Linked DNA regions of Homo sapiens: region 2 is linked to region 1. The links are contacts of gene promoters, found by promoter capture Hi-C in human tissues and cell types (Jung and others, 2019). All regions are on one chromosome and are shown on one strand. Each heading gives the region's core, a stretch centred on a gene start or on the middle of the fragment in contact. The rest is flanking DNA. Distances are from core to core; before and after follow the strand shown. Region 1 holds the start of SMARCC1 (SWI/SNF related BAF chromatin remodeling complex subunit C1). Region 2 overlaps P4HTM (prolyl 4-hydroxylase, transmembrane).

The links. The method cuts DNA at HindIII sites, captures the fragments that hold promoters and counts their contacts. A contact is called where the count stands out against the background at its distance.
Region 2: a fragment that was not itself captured here is called in contact with the fragment with the promoter of SMARCC1 in region 1 in 1 of the 25 tissues and cell types used here (aorta).

What each region holds. Positions count from the first base shown.
Region 1 is chr3:47,777,656-47,785,021 of GRCh38, forward strand. It overlaps SMARCC1 (SWI/SNF related BAF chromatin remodeling complex subunit C1), which reads right to left and starts at 4,238. Exons shown (of 28, transcript NM_003074.4): 1 at 3,948-4,238. The coding sequence starts at 4,142. RefSeq lists silencers at 3,712-3,951, 4,132-4,351, 4,762-4,811, 4,922-4,981 and an enhancer at 4,184-4,478. The HindIII fragment of the contact is 21,057 bases long and covers 1-7,366 here.
Region 2 is chr3:48,996,894-49,004,259 of GRCh38, forward strand. P4HTM (prolyl 4-hydroxylase, transmembrane) reads left to right here. Exons shown (of 9, transcript NM_177939.3): 3 at 4,545-4,735; 4 at 5,607-5,703; 5 at 7,205-7,366. LOC124906235 (a long non-coding RNA gene) reads left to right here. Exons shown (of 2, transcript XR_007095904.1): 1 at 1-1,779; 2 at 2,023-2,890. Among named protein-coding and RNA genes, the nearest start is that of WDR6, 6.8 kb to the right of the region's middle. The HindIII fragment of the contact is 8,927 bases long and covers 1-7,366 here.

The DNA of each region.
Region 1 (7,366 bases), core at 2,988-5,487:
TAGCTGGGACTACAGTCATGTGCCACCACACCCGGCTAATTTTTGCATTTTTAGTAGAGCAGAAGTTTCACCACATTGGCCAGGCTGGTCTCGAACTCCTGACCTCAGGTGATCCACCGGCCTCGGTCTCCCAAGGTGCTGGGATTACAGGTGTGAGCCACAGCCCCCAGTCTCAGTCCAATTTTTAATAAACTATAAAATATTTAATTCTGATTAGATTTTTTTTCCAAATCATCCTACCAAATTACCAAACATGAAAATGCATGTAGGCCAGGCACAGTGGCTCATGCCTGTAATCCCAGTACTTTGGGAGGCTGAGGCTGGCGGATCACCTGAGGTCAGGAGTTCAAGCCCAGCCTGGCCAACATGGTGAAACCCCAGCTCTACTAAAAATAACAAAAATTAGCAGAGCGTGGTGGCGGGTGCCTGTAATCCCAGCTACTCAAGAGGCTGGGGTAGAAGAATCACTTCAACTTGGGAGGCCGAGGTCACACCACTGCACTCCAGCTTGGGCAGAAGAGCGAGACTCCATCTCAAAAAAAAAAAACAAAAAACAAAAAACAAAAAAAACACTGACTCCTAATTAAGAAATTTTAATTTCTATGTCATAAACAATTAATCTGGTTTTTTTTTGTTTTTGTTTTTTGTTTTGTTTTGTTTCGTTTTGTTTTGAGACAAGGTCTCGCTCTGTTGCCCAGGCTGGAGTGCAATGGTGCCAACACAGTTCACCGCAGCCTCGACCTCCTAGGCTCAAGTGATCCTCCAAGGACCCTGCCTCAGCCAAGTAGCTGGGACTACACGTGCATGCCACCACAACTGATGTATTTTTTTGTTTTGTTTTGTTTTGAGACAGGGTCTCATCATGTTGCCCAAGCTGGTCTCCAAATCCTGGGCTCAAATGAACCTCCCACCTGGAATTCCCAAGTGCTGGGATTACGGACGCAAGCCACTGCACCTGGCCCAATTAATCTTTTGATCAAAAAAAGTCTATTATATTTTATTTAAGAAAACAAAAATTTATTAGTCTCAAAATATTTCAAGTAAGAGTCAGTGTGGGCCAAGTGTGGTGGCTCACACTTGTAAGCCCTGCACTTTGGGAGGCTGAGGCAGGCAGAGAGCCCAGGAGTTCGAGACCAGCCTGGGCAACACTGCAAAACCCTGCCTCTACTGATAATACAAAAAATTAACCAGGTGTGGTGGTTCGTGCCTGTAGTCCCAGGTACTCAGGAGGCTGAGGTGGGAGAATCACCTGAGCCCAGGAGGTTGAGGCTGCAGTGTGCTATGATCTCACCACTGCACTCCAGCCTGGGCAACACAGAAAGACCCTGTCTCAAAAAAAAAAGAAAATTCCTAAATGAAGTCTCAGGTATCTTCCATTTGAAAAAGAAGGTAAATAATATCTATCATTTAGGACTGCTATGAGGACTTTAAGTGAGTTATACTTTAAGTACCCGGCACATGGTAAATGCTCAGTTGTTCACTGAATGCATGAGCTGAATGCAAGAGTTTGAGGTTGCAGTGAGCTATGATCACGCCACTGTACTCCAGCCTGGGCAACACAGAAAGACCCTGTCTCAAAAAAATAAAGTAAAATAAAAATAAATAAAAAATGACACTAACAAAATCATGTTTACTGAGACTGAAACTGTTGTCTGCTCTGAAAATGCAGTATTAAATGCACTAGAAACGGTTAGTTAAAACCAATGCGTACACCAAATAGAAATGCACTGTGTAGAAAAGAAGCAAAGAACTTTGTGATAATATTTTCACCACTTCAACGCTAACACCCAGAGACTGAAAAGATTCTGGCTGTCAGGCCTAGGGTATATACGTTTCTCAATCTCAGTAGACCCTAGAAATACACTCTGGCTTTACAAAGTCCTGAGAAGTCAAAGGTAACTTTGTCTATAAAGTCTCAGGGATAGTGAATCAACATTAGCCTAGTGGTCTCAATACTGCTGGGCAATTCCTCAAACTGCTTTGTAGCCACTTCCCTACCCACCCAAACAAATATCGAAGGATTATCCATGTCTAAAGCTTCTTGTAGTTGATCCCAAACTGATGCACACTGAACAGTGCGGAGAGGTAGAAATTACTGAAATTTGCCTTTTTCTACTCTCTTCCTTGATATTATTCAAAGGAATATGCCTGTAGATTATTTTTCTTTGTTAAAGCTTCACTGAATTTAAGACCCAAAGCATTGGCTAAAAGGAATGTAATAAAGAAGAATTAACCAATATTTTCATAACATATTCAATTCCATTAGCCACTTCTGGAAGCTCTATTACTTACATTTAAAAAGTGACCAATTTATCACTGTGTAAGAAAGGGCAATATTACTAAAAATCTACAGTCTAAATGTAATTTCAGAGGAGGAAAAGTCCAGACACCTAAAAATATAATTACTGTCTCTCACTTCCTCAAACTTCAGATAAGAAATGTAATTTTTCTAGCTGACCTTCAAAAACAAGAAAGAAAGAAATGATCATTTCTGGGTCTTTGGTTTTTTTTTGTTTTTTTTTTTTTTTTTTTTTTGGAGACAGTCTTACTTTATTACCTAGGCTGGAGTGCAATGGTGCAATCTCGGCTCACTGCAGCTTCTGCCTCCTGGGTTCAAGAGATTCTCCTGCCTCAGCCTCCCGAGTAGCTGGGATTACAGGCATGTGCTGCCACACCCGACTAATTTTGTATTTTTTGGAAAGACGGGGTTTCACCATGTTGGTCAGGCTAGTCTCGAACTCCTGACCTCAGGTGATCCACCCGCCCGGCCTTCCAAGCCGCGCCCGGCCAGAAATGGTCATTTCTGAATGTACCACGTGTAATGCCAAAGGAACCCAAGATCCCTGCCCATGCCTAATAACTGCCAAACACTGACAGGCTTCACTGAGCTGCTGAGGCCAAAAAAATAGGTTCCTAAACTAGTTTATGTTTTCATTCATTCAACAAATATTTACTAAGCAGCCACTAAGGGTAAGGCAATAAGTATCAGCCACGTTCCCGGATACACTGCAGTGAACAAAGCCCTTGCTTCAGTGCTATGATTCTCAATAGGAGAAAGTACAGAACTAAAGAGGGTGATAGGAAAACTTCAGAGGCTGGGGAGCCTTTTCGGCTACCTGCTTCATTACACCCTTTAAGGGAGTCCTCCTGAATATTTACACAAAAGGGAAGTTGGAAAAAAAAAAAACATTTGTTATAAACAAAGGATTAAGTCAAAACTTTGAAAACTACTGACTCGGCGGAACTTCCGTTCCAAAGGTAGGAGAAATCAGTAAATGAATAATTTCAAAATGTGGTAAACACTACGAAGAAAATAAAGGTGACACAAGAAAAGTGCTCTAATAAAAACTGGGTTCTTGGGGAAGGCCTCCCTTTAGAACACTTTACGTACAAGCGACCATCAACTCTCACGCCACACAGAACCAGAAGCACGATGAGGTAGAACCGTCGTTAATAGTTCTCATCCATCCTAGAATTCATATTGCCTGTTATTAATTAACGAATACAATCATCCCAGTCGTTTAGCAATTCAACAACAGGTAGCAAACCCCCTCGAGACTTTGAATACGCTCTAAACAAAACTTGAAGCTGCTTTTACCACGCTTGCTCGGTCTTTAGGGATCATTGTTCACACACCTAAGGCAGCTGACAAAAGAGAGAGAGTCACACTCGCTTAGTGGCTGAGCTCGACCTGCTCTGGCACACGAGACTGAGCAGGGGCTTTCACCATGGGTGCGTAGGCTCAGAGGAGAGAGCCCCGAACCCCAGTCAGGCCCCGGGATCGCGGGCGCCCAGAGCGGGCGGCGGGGGCGTGGCGGGCCCGGCGCCTGCCTTTGTTGTCCCTCGTGGCGTGCGGGGGGGAGGGGCGGCCCGAGGCCCGCGAGGCCAGCTGCCGCCTCCGGCCCCGGTCGCGTGGTCTCCCGGCCCCCACGGGCGCGCGAACCCACCTTCTTGTAGTGCTTGCCCAGCCAGACCCGCACCGAATCCAGCTGGGACACCGTCTCCGGGCTCTCCCAAAACTTGGTGGCCGGGCCCCCATCCTTCCGTCGATAAACAGCTAGGCCTGCGGCTGCCGCCGCAATCCCCGAGCCCGTGGCGCCTACCGCTGTCCCCGGCCCGCCGCCGCCCGCCGCTGCGGCCATCGTCGCAGCCCGTCGTCCCCACAGCCTGGCCCACCCCGGCCCTCGCGGTGTTTCCCGGTCGTTCCCGCGCGCACCCCCGCGCGCGTAGCCGCCACTGCCGCTTCCCGGCCCCGCCCAGCCAACCCTCTTCCGGCGCGGACGCCCGGCCCCGCCCCATCTGGGAACTGGCACTGTATCTGACGCGAGCCAGCGCACGCGCATGCGTAGCACTCGTGCGGCCGTGCCTTGGAATAGCACGTCCTGCGGCCTCAGCCGCCTCTTCCGCCATCCTCCGTAGGCTGCATTCTGCCCTAGTGAGCGCCGGTTTTTGAGCCTTGCTCTTCCCTCGCTACCGACGTCGAATCATTATGCGGTCAACAACCGCAGGTGGGTTATGTGTCATAGCCCGCCTCCGCTGGAGGGAAAAGGCCTGGTGCGAGAAATGCCCAAGGGAAAGCCTGTCTAGGGTATCGAGTGCTGGCCGAGGGCCCTGCACCCGGACTGGGACTGCGCCGGGCCCCGCTTTCCCTCAGGCCCTCCACCCCCAGCGGCCCGGCGGCATTTGTGAACAGCCATCTGGGACTCCCACGCCTAGGCTTTTCGGCTTCACAGACCTTCCACTCCCTCAGGGGTCCAGCCACAGCGGCTCATTCCTGCCCCAGGGGCCCTTGCACTGGCTCTTTCGAGACCTCAGCAGGTCTTCCCTTCTGATTTGCACTTACGAGACGCGTTCAGATTCACTGCTTCAAAGGACTTCAGAAAGTAGTTGTCAGATCTTAACAATCTTGAACAACTGTTCACACCCATACACTTTCTGCATAGCGCTCACCACGACCCGGCGTTTCTAGTTTCTCATTTACCTTCCACATAAATTACATGAGAACCTAATCTTAACTTGTTCACAGGTGTATCCTGAACACCTGAGACAAGGAACAGATGTACAGTAAATACTTGATGAGTTAATGAATGGCCCACATAGAAGCCGAAAATTTTTAAATTATTAACAAGGTATATTGGCCGGGTGCGGAGCACTTTGGGAGGCTGAGGCGGGAGGATCAATTGAGCCCAGGAGCTCTAGACCACCACACCCATCCCCGTCTCTACAAAAAATACAAAAATCAGCCAGCGTTGTGTTGCAAGCCTGTGGTCCTAGCCTCTTGGAGGGCTGAGGTGGGAGGATCCCTTGAGCTGGGGAGATGGAGGCTGCAGTGAGCTATAATCGCGCCACTCACTACACTTCAGCTTGGGCGACAGAGCGAAACCCTGTTTCAGAAACATAAAAAGTATGACTGGCCATAATGGAGTTGTGAACATAATGCTATATGATCGCAGAGAAGCAAGTAACTAATTGCTTGTGAGAACGTGACTAACTGCTGGTAAGTTTCTGAGATCTTTTAAAAATGAGGGTGTGTACATGTTTTCAGGATCTCCTGAGGGCTGTGTCACGGACAGTAAAATATATTAAATAAAAAAGTTAATAGAATGTGATCAAGAGGGCCAGGCGAGATAGCTCACGCCTGTAATCCCAACACTTTGGGAGGCCAAGGCAGACTGATCACGAGGTCAGGAGTTCCAGACCACCCTGGCCAACATGGTGAAACCCCGTCTCTACTAAAACTACAAAAATTGGCCAGGTGTGGTGGTGCATGCCTGTAATCCCAGCTACTCGGGAGGCTGAGGCAGGAGAATTGCTTGAACCCAGGAGGAGGTGGAGATCGCAGTGAGCTGAGATCACGCCACTGCACTCCAGCCTAGGCGACAGAGCCAAACTCGTCTGAAAAAAAAAGTTTTTAATTTGAAACTTTCTCAGATTTAACAGAAAAGTTGCAAATATAATACAAAGAACTTTTCCTGAATCATCTAAGAGTAAGTTGCTGACATAATACCCATCACTATCAAAAAGTTTAATGTGTATTTTCTACAGACAAGTATAGTCTATATATTCTCTTACATAATCACAATACAATCATTTATACCAGGAAATTAACACTGATGCCATCCCCAGACCCCATTCAGGTTTTTCCTATTGCACCATGAAGTCCTTTATAGCAAAAGTTTCCAGTTCAAAATCACACTTTGCATTTAATAAAGTTTCATCTCCTTCAATATGGAACAGTTCCTTAGTCCTTAAACCTTAACAACATTGATACCTATGAAGATTACAAGGCATTTATTTTGTAGAATGACCCTCAATTTAAGTTTGTCTGATGTTTGTATCTTTGTGTTCTTTGCATTGCATTCTATCAGGTGGTGCATAATTTCATTTCTCCTGTTACATTGATGACAGAGTATCATCCAGGTTTCTCTACTGCGAAGTTATTCTTTTTGCCTTTGTAATTAATCACTATTTTCTATGGAGGTATTTTGTTTTTTTGCTTTTCGGGGGTTTTTTGAGATAAAGTCTTGCTTTGTCACCCAAGCTGGAGTGCAGTGGTGTGATCATGGTTCACTGCAACCTCCACTTCCTAGGCTCAATTGATCCCTTTGTGGAGGTATTTTGAAAGTATATTGGCCGGGCGCAGTGGCTCACACCCGTAATCCCAACACTTTGGGAGGCCAAGGCAGGCAGATCATGAGGTCAGGAGTTCGAGACCAGCCTGGCCAACCTGGTGAAACTCCATCTCTACTAAAAATACAAAAATTAGCCGGGTGTGGTGGCAGGCATCTGTAATCCCAGCTACTTGGGAGGCTAAGGCAAGACAATGGCTTGAAACCGGAAGGTGGTGGATGTTGCAGTAAGCCAAGATCTCGCCACTGCACGCCAGCCTGGGTGGACGAACGAAACTCCATCTCAAAAAAAAAAGAAACTTGTTTCTAGAGTATAGAAAGAGCTCTTACAACTCAGTAATGAAAAGACCAGTAACTCAGCTGACCAATTAATCAATAACCCAATGGAATAAACTTGATACATGCAACACTGGGGAGTCTTACCCAAGTTATATGGGTAACTATATATATATACCCAATGTATAGTGTATGATTCAATATACGTGGAGTTACAGAATAGGTTAAACTGAAGTGTGGTTGCCTCTGGGGAAGTGAAGGGGCATGAGAGAACTTTCTGGGGTGATGATAATAAGCTGCAGTTTGATACAGATTTGTATTACACAGGTGTCTCCATACCAACTTATGGAATGATATGCAAGAGTTGTGGATTTTACTGCATGTAAATTTTACCTCAAAAGAAAAGAACTCTAGGAGCTGGCCATGGTGGCTGAGTCAGGAGGATCGCTTGAGCCCAGGAT
Region 2 (7,366 bases), core at 3,058-5,557, 1.2 Mb after region 1:
CCACTAGCCAGGCTGTCATCCTAGGCCTGGGAAGGACAGAAGGTGGTTTTCCCTACCCAGCATAGACAGCTGCCTGGGAGCCTGTCTGTCCTCTTGGCCAGACAGAGGACTACCTGCTCAAAAAGCAGTTCCTAGCTGTGTCCATGGAAAGTGTACTTCCACCCTGTTTGAGACTTGTGCCTCTCTGGATTCTGGTTTGTAAATCTCCTTGGGGGGCGGCAGAAAGAGGGTTGTATGTGTTTCCATGGAAGCACACACAATTTGCATGGCCACTGCAGAGGCCATGGCTACAAAGTCCCAGGCTCTCCCTGGCGGGGTTAGCCCCTATTCTTGGCACTGGTGAGGGTGCCAATGGCGCACAGCCAGTCGAAAATTTTGGTGGCCCTGGCTCCAGGCATAGGCCGTGGTTACCAACAGCCAGCAGGCCTCCATCTTCCCACTCAACACATAGGTCCCTGTGTGCCTTCCTCGAAAAAGATTGTACACACATGTGACATCCAGCTGCAGCCAGCGTTGCAGGGTGGGCTCCAGCTCTGCAGGGGGCAGTGGTCCTGTCTTCAGCACCTCTAGTCTGGAGTACAGGTTGCAGTCCCAGGGGCCAGAGGAAGTACTGTTGGTCCTGGAGAACCTGACCTTCACTGCTGAGTGGGAACAGAGGGGCCGGTGAGGAGATGGGCCTCTAGGAGTCCTCCCTAAACCCCCAAGAGTGTTTAGTCCATCAGTCCCCTCCACCTAGTAGACTAAACCCTTTTGTCTGATGCTCTGCCCTTAGAATCAGTCTGCCACCTTCCTTAGCAGAATTTTTGGTTTCATTTTGTTGTTTTAGCAATGTCCTATGCTTGTAAAGGAATTTTTTCTTTTTGTTCCAACCAGGCATAGCATTTGGATATTCCCTCTTACACTGCCTCAGCCCCGAGCCAGGAGCTGCAATGGAGGCACTTGGAAGGGGTGTGTAAAGCTACAGGCCCAGGACTCATCAAAGTCACTGGTGCAGAGAGTGTCCAGAACCTCCTTGGAGGAGCCTGCATCCTGCAACTCGCAGTCCCTGCAGCTGGCATGCAGCGCTGGGAAGAGGGGCAAGGCGAGGCACTGGCCAGTGTGGTTGGGGGTGGAGTGAGGAGGGGGTGGAGGGGGCTGATCCCTCCACTTTTCCCCCTTTTTTACCCTTTTTGAGACGGATGCCTGCTGTAGGTGACATTGAGTACAGTTTACCTGATCCCTGTATGATTTGAATGATTTGAAAGGGGTGGGGCCGAGCAAGGTGGAGACCAGCCATGTGCAGACTCACATGGGCGGTCCAGGCGGGAGCCGTTGTTGGCCACAGCAGTGATACAGAGATCATGGCCCAAGGGGAAGCGTCCACAATGCAGGATGGCTGGCCAGGGGTAGCTGTAGCAGGCCATGATGGGCTCGCAGCTGGCCTGCATGGCCTCGCACAGGCTGTAGGAGGGGTAGATGACCCTTTGGGGGAAAGGGTCGGGGGCTGCACCGCCACAGGCTGAGCACCCAGATCAGCTGGAACCTCTCCATGTTCCTACCCCTGTCTCGTGGCCTGGAACTCTCTGGTTGCTGGGCAACGACACTGGTCGCCTAGCAACAGCCCCGTAGCCTGGCTTTCCCACTTGCCCCACATCTCAGCCCTCAGCTCTGCCTCTTCACTCCCGCCCTCCCACTCAGGTGCCTTGCCAGCTTTCCAGTGCACCTCTCCCTCCGGCTCTGTGGACATCCATTGTCTGCAAGAGGTGGCCTGCACCTTGGGCCTTTACTCTCCATCTTAAAGTGAGGAAACAGGGCCCTCCCTCTTGTCCTGAAAGGCCTTCGGGGCACCGCAGCCAGGGCTGGGGTTGGCAAACAGTTCAAGGGCTTGATCCTGAGTTCTGCTGACATGGCCACCCAGAGGCTCTTGGGAGAAACCATTGTTCACAGGATAGGTTAGGCTGGGGAAGAGGAAACAGCCTTGGGATCTCTGGACTCTCTGGGAGAAAAGGCCACCAGAAGGGCCTCTGCTCCATCTCTTGCCAGGGTCTCTTTGGACAGACATAGCTTCCACGCCTCATTGGAGAGGAGGTTCCAGCCCGCCTGCCCCCAACCCCCAGCCTGAAGCGACTTGTCCACCTGCCCTATCTTGACATTCAAGAGCCCTTGACCACCATTGATGGTCTCCTGCCTAAGGGCACCTGGTTCCCTCTGTCTGGAACACTCTAACAAAACGATCCATTTTCCTCTCTGTGCCTGTCAGCGCCCAGCCCTGATAGGTGCTCAGGTGCTCAGCAAGGATTACTGAAGACCTGAGCCACCAGAGCAGGGCCCTGAGGGAGCCCTCCAGGGCCCTGCACCTGGAAGCCCCTGTCCTACCTGTCAAGGCATACAGGGGTAAATAGCAGAGGAAGAGGCGGGCATCGGGGTGGCACTCCCAGGCAAGCAGGAGCAGCCAGCTGACCAACTGCTGGATGGCCTCAGCTGCTGTGATGTGGTCCAGCAAGTTGGGCAGACGCATCTGTGTAGCCAATGTCGTGGCATAGGGCCATGGCTTGGGGAATGGGCATGCACCTCATGCAGCCCCAGGGAGCCCCTGACCCTGCTGTCATCCCACAGCATCACCAGTGTCACCAGCAGCCACAGCCCCTGCTCCATCACTGCCTTCTGTGCCTTGGCCTTAATGAACTGAGGTTGAGGGTTTTATAGGGCTGTTCCTGCACCCAGGGAGCCAACAGAGGAGATCCTGCAGGGGTTTGCACAGCTCCGAGGTGCCCGGACCCACCTGGTGAGGCCCCAACATGCTGACTGGGCTGTTTGTTTTTGATTAGCACACAGCAGGGGACTGTAGAGGCTGGAGGCACCTCCACTGGGCTTGCAGATTACTGGCACCTAATAAACTGAAGAAACCTGGGCCTGTGTTTTCTTTTCTTTTTCTGGCTTCCTTTTTCTTTCTTTTTAAATTTTGTGTGTTAAGCAATCAAGAGGTGACTCTGTTGATTTGCAATTTGATCTAATCCATTGTTCCACAGGGCTGTCTCCCCTTGGATCACACCCTTTCTGGGTTTGCTGGGGTCACGGGATCATGCAGGCCAAGAGTGGGGGCCTTTGTCCTATCCTCAGTGTTATCACATCAGGGTCACCTGCTCCTAGTAGCTGAATCTGGTCATGAGCATGGTTTCTGGAACACAGCAGGCTGGGTGGCCAGTGGCAAGGCACTGATTTCTCTGTGCTTGGGTTTCCTCTTAGATAGGAAGGTTGAATTAATGGGGCCTGGCCTCCTAGGGTAAGTATAAGGATTAAGGAGTTGATGTGTATGAAGTGCTTAGGACAGTGCCTTGGGCAGAGTCTGTGCTACCTAAGTATTTTCTGCTGTAATTACTATTAAAAACCACTCCAGGCCAGGTGTGGTGGCATATGCTTATAATCCCAGCACTTTTGAGCCCGAGGTGGAAGGATAGCTTGAACCCAGGAAATTGAGACCAGCCTGGGCAATATAGGGAGACTCCATCTCTACAAAAAATAAAAAAATAAAAAAAGCTCCAACCCTGGTGCTGAGTGACCATTTTCCTTCCTCTTGGCAATGACTGGAACTTTGTGCTGGAAGTGTAACTGAGAGAAGCGGCAGGCCACTCCGCAGGTAGCAGTGCTGCCCTTCCTCCAGTCAGCTCCTCTGCGTGCTTCTTGTCCTCCAGTGAAGACCGCTCTCCCAGGAACAAGGGAAGGAAGCAGGGCCCATGCTCCTGCTCTGGAAGTGTCTGGGGCTACCAGAATGTGGGCTCCCTAGATGTGAGGCTCAGGTTCTAGCTCCACCAAGCCACCTACCAGCTGTGCCTGGTGTGCAGGCAGCCAGCCACTGAAGCCAAGCCCCAGGCCTGACTGATCTTTACTCAGGGGTGTAGAGGCATAGAGTAGGCACTAAGTGAACATTTGTACCAGGGAAGGAATCAAGGAAGCAAAGGACACCTGGGACATCTTTTCAGAGACCAGTATCTGCCCAAAACCTGAGTAACCCTCACTGATCTTCCAGCACTGGGCAACTCAGCCCTGGTCAGATGGCCAGCACCCATCTTTGCAGGAAATTGGAGGGGAAGGCCCTTGGACTGGCCTGAAACATTGGATGTCTTGTGCTGTTTTTATTTGAATAATGCTGAAAAGTTAAAATGAAAGCAAGAAGCAGCCACCATCTCCCCACTTTAAATATTTATACCCAGTAAAAAGTAGCAATCAAGCCTCTGCCCTTCAGGATCACTCTCTAGCCTTCAGTCCCAACCCAAAGATGGGTCAGCCCATATCCAGGTTAGCTCTGGCTCACCTCCCAGGGCTCTCCTGGAAAATGTGTGCTCTCATCATCAAGAGAGGTCCCACATTTCCAACGCCAGCCAGCCTTTGCAGGACAACTCAATCTTGACAAGTCAGAATCAAGGGGTCTGTAAAATCCTCCATCCTCCAGACCTGGTGGCCACTGAGGGACATGCAGTACCCCAGGAACCCTGAAGGGAGGAAGGTACTGGGTGCACCAGCGCCCTGGCTCAGTCCTTGGCCTCACCCACCTCCTCTTCTGGCAGAAATCCCCGGCTTCCTGACTGATGAAGAGTGTCGGCTCATCATCCATCTGGCGCAGATGAAGGGGTTACAGCGCAGCCAGATCCTGCCTACTGAAGAGTATGAAGAGGCAATGAGCACTATGCAGGTCAGCCAGCTGGACCTCTTCCGGCTGCTGGACCAGAACCGTGATGGGCACCTTCAGCTCCGTGAGGTTGGAATCCTGGGACCTGAGTAGGCTCAGGGTGGGAGTGCCCAGAATCACCTTTCTGGTGGCCAGGTCACTTGTCCAGCCCAGGCCTGGTCCCAAAAGTCAGATACTACCCAGACCTGCCTGGGCATGCCCAGACCCAGGAGGTCCCCTTTCCCTCTGGAGAGCTCTTGGCTACCCTGGGAACCTCAGAAGATGGCAGGAGAATCCACCTGGGGGTGATGGCATTTATCACCATAGTTTTGGAGGGATGCACCTCTGTAGCCTGCATTCCTTGCTCTCATGGCTGGGGGCCCCACAGAACTCATGGTGGATGGGGTGGCAGCTCTGAGGTGGCCAGCAGCCTGCCTCTCTCTCTGCATAACTCTCACACACTCTACAGCCAGGCTGGAGGGCCAAGCTTCTGAGAGAAGTCTGGCAGGGTGGTGGTGCGGGGCACTGCCCACACAGAACACCCCACTGAGCCTGGTCTTTCTGAGGGATCTGGTGGTCATGCCCTAACCAGGTCTCCCCCTGGTGCCTGTTCTCCCTTAACACCCAGGACTTGGCTTTCCCCATCTCACCCGGAGTATCTGAGTGGGACACAGGCCTGTCCTTCACTCTGCTTCCAACCAACAGTGCTCTCCATGAAGGCCACGGGGCCTTAGTCCGGGAATGCAAATGGCCTACGCCTCTTGACCCCCAGCCCCCGGCCTTCTCCTCAGATGCTCTGTACCTTTCTACCTGCACTCACTTTGGCCCAATGGGCTCTGCCCTGTGTCCTCATCCATGCCCTCACCTGAACACTTTGCTCCACAACAAGCACTGGGCCATCTGTTCTCTGCTGGCTCTCCATCACTGGGGTCACCCACTGAGGGACCCTCTTATGCTTTAGGTTCTGGCCCAGACTCGCCTGGGAAATGGATGGTGGATGACTCCAGAGAGCATTCAGGAGATGTACGCCGCGATCAAGGCTGACCCTGATGGTGACGGTGAGCTCACACCTCTGCACAGTCCTATCCCCGTGAGCCTCCTGCCCACTCCCAGGTGCACAATTTTGAAAACTTGGGCCCTTCCCCCACAGCCAGGCAGCCTCTCTGCACCCCTTTATAGTGGCCAGAGATGGGGAGGTGAAGATCCAGCCTTGCTTTTTACCCCTGGGAAGTAGGCAGGCAGCCAGGCCCCCCGTTCCCCTTGGTGATGGTCTCGAGGGCAGTTCTTGGAGACCCTTTTGATAACATCAGGCAGAGTTGAGAGCCTGGGGACAGGAAGTAGGGCTGCTAGTTGGCAGAGAACAGAGTGGGTGGAGCAGGAGCAAGGCGACAGTGAGGCCAGCTAGAGCTTGGCTGTTTACCCTGCTCCATCCATCTCTCCAGCCAGACACGAGGTCCACCCCAGCAGACAGCTTCCCTGGTCTAAGTGAGATCTCCCTTGCCTTCCTCTTGTCCACCTGGAGTCATGCCGAAGCGCCTAAAATGGTAGTGCTGCTACCTGTGCTAACTGCTGGGGAGGGGTGGGCAGGGAAGCTGTCATGCAAGTGGTGCCCCCTCTGGTAATAACTCTCAGGAGGTTTCTGAGGTGTGGTCATCACCCTCATGCCCAAATTCTGGACCAAGAGAGGAAGATACAGCAGTTAGAAAGGACTTGGAACAGTGGCTTTGCGGCTGGTGAACCAGAGTGAAGAATCTGGCCGTGACCTGTGGCTGGATGGCTGCCACACTGCTATAGGCCCCAGAACAGAGGTGGTGACAGTCTCACAGCCCTTGAATGTCCCCCACCCTCAGAGGAATCTGGGCCAAAGAGTGGAAGGTGATGTCCTTGGGTCAGCCAGAATAACATGGAGCAAAGATACCAACTACTCTTCCAGAACCCCAAGAGGGTAGAACCCCTGCTTAATGGTTTGAGCAGGGACAGTGGAGAATGTTCTCATGAGAGGGGGTGGCCTGACTTTCGTTGCTAAGGTGGGCTGGTAACGCAGTAGGCAGGGCTGGCGAAGTAGGTTCCACCCAGGATGAAACCTGGGGTCATGAGGAACTCCCCGGGGGCTGGCCCTGCTTGCACCCTGGCGTATGTATGTAAGGCCCTGGATGAGGCCCAGCACTGCCTGCTCTCTCCTCACCCTCCACAGGCCGGAGAGTGGCCACCACTCTATATAGCCAGGCTGGAAGGCCAGGGTCCTGGCCATATGGCTCAAGCTTCCTTTGGAGAACCTTCTCTGGCCACTCTAATAGGGGGTGGGCCTCTTTCTTCTTAGGGCCAAATTAGGGCTTAAACTGAGAAAAGGAACTGCTCTGGGTCTTCCTGTAAGGCCTGATGTGACAGAAACCAGGTTCATCTGACCCAAAAGTCCAGGTGGGGGACAAGTGTACAAGGCCCCTCAGTGCCTGAGGTCAGGGGCTGCTGCTGCCTTTGGGGTAGGTAGGGAAGTGCAGCCTGCCACTGTTGCCTCCCAATATGGGCTTGGTGGGCATTGATGGTGGGTGCCCTGTGCAGGAGTGCTGAGTCTGCAGGAGTTCTCCAACATGGACCTTCGGGACTTCCACAAGTACATGAGGAGCCACAAGGCAGAGTCCAGTGAGCTGGTGCGGAACAGCCACCATACCTGGCTCTACCAGGGTGAGGGTGCCCACCACATCATGCGTGCCATCCGCCAGA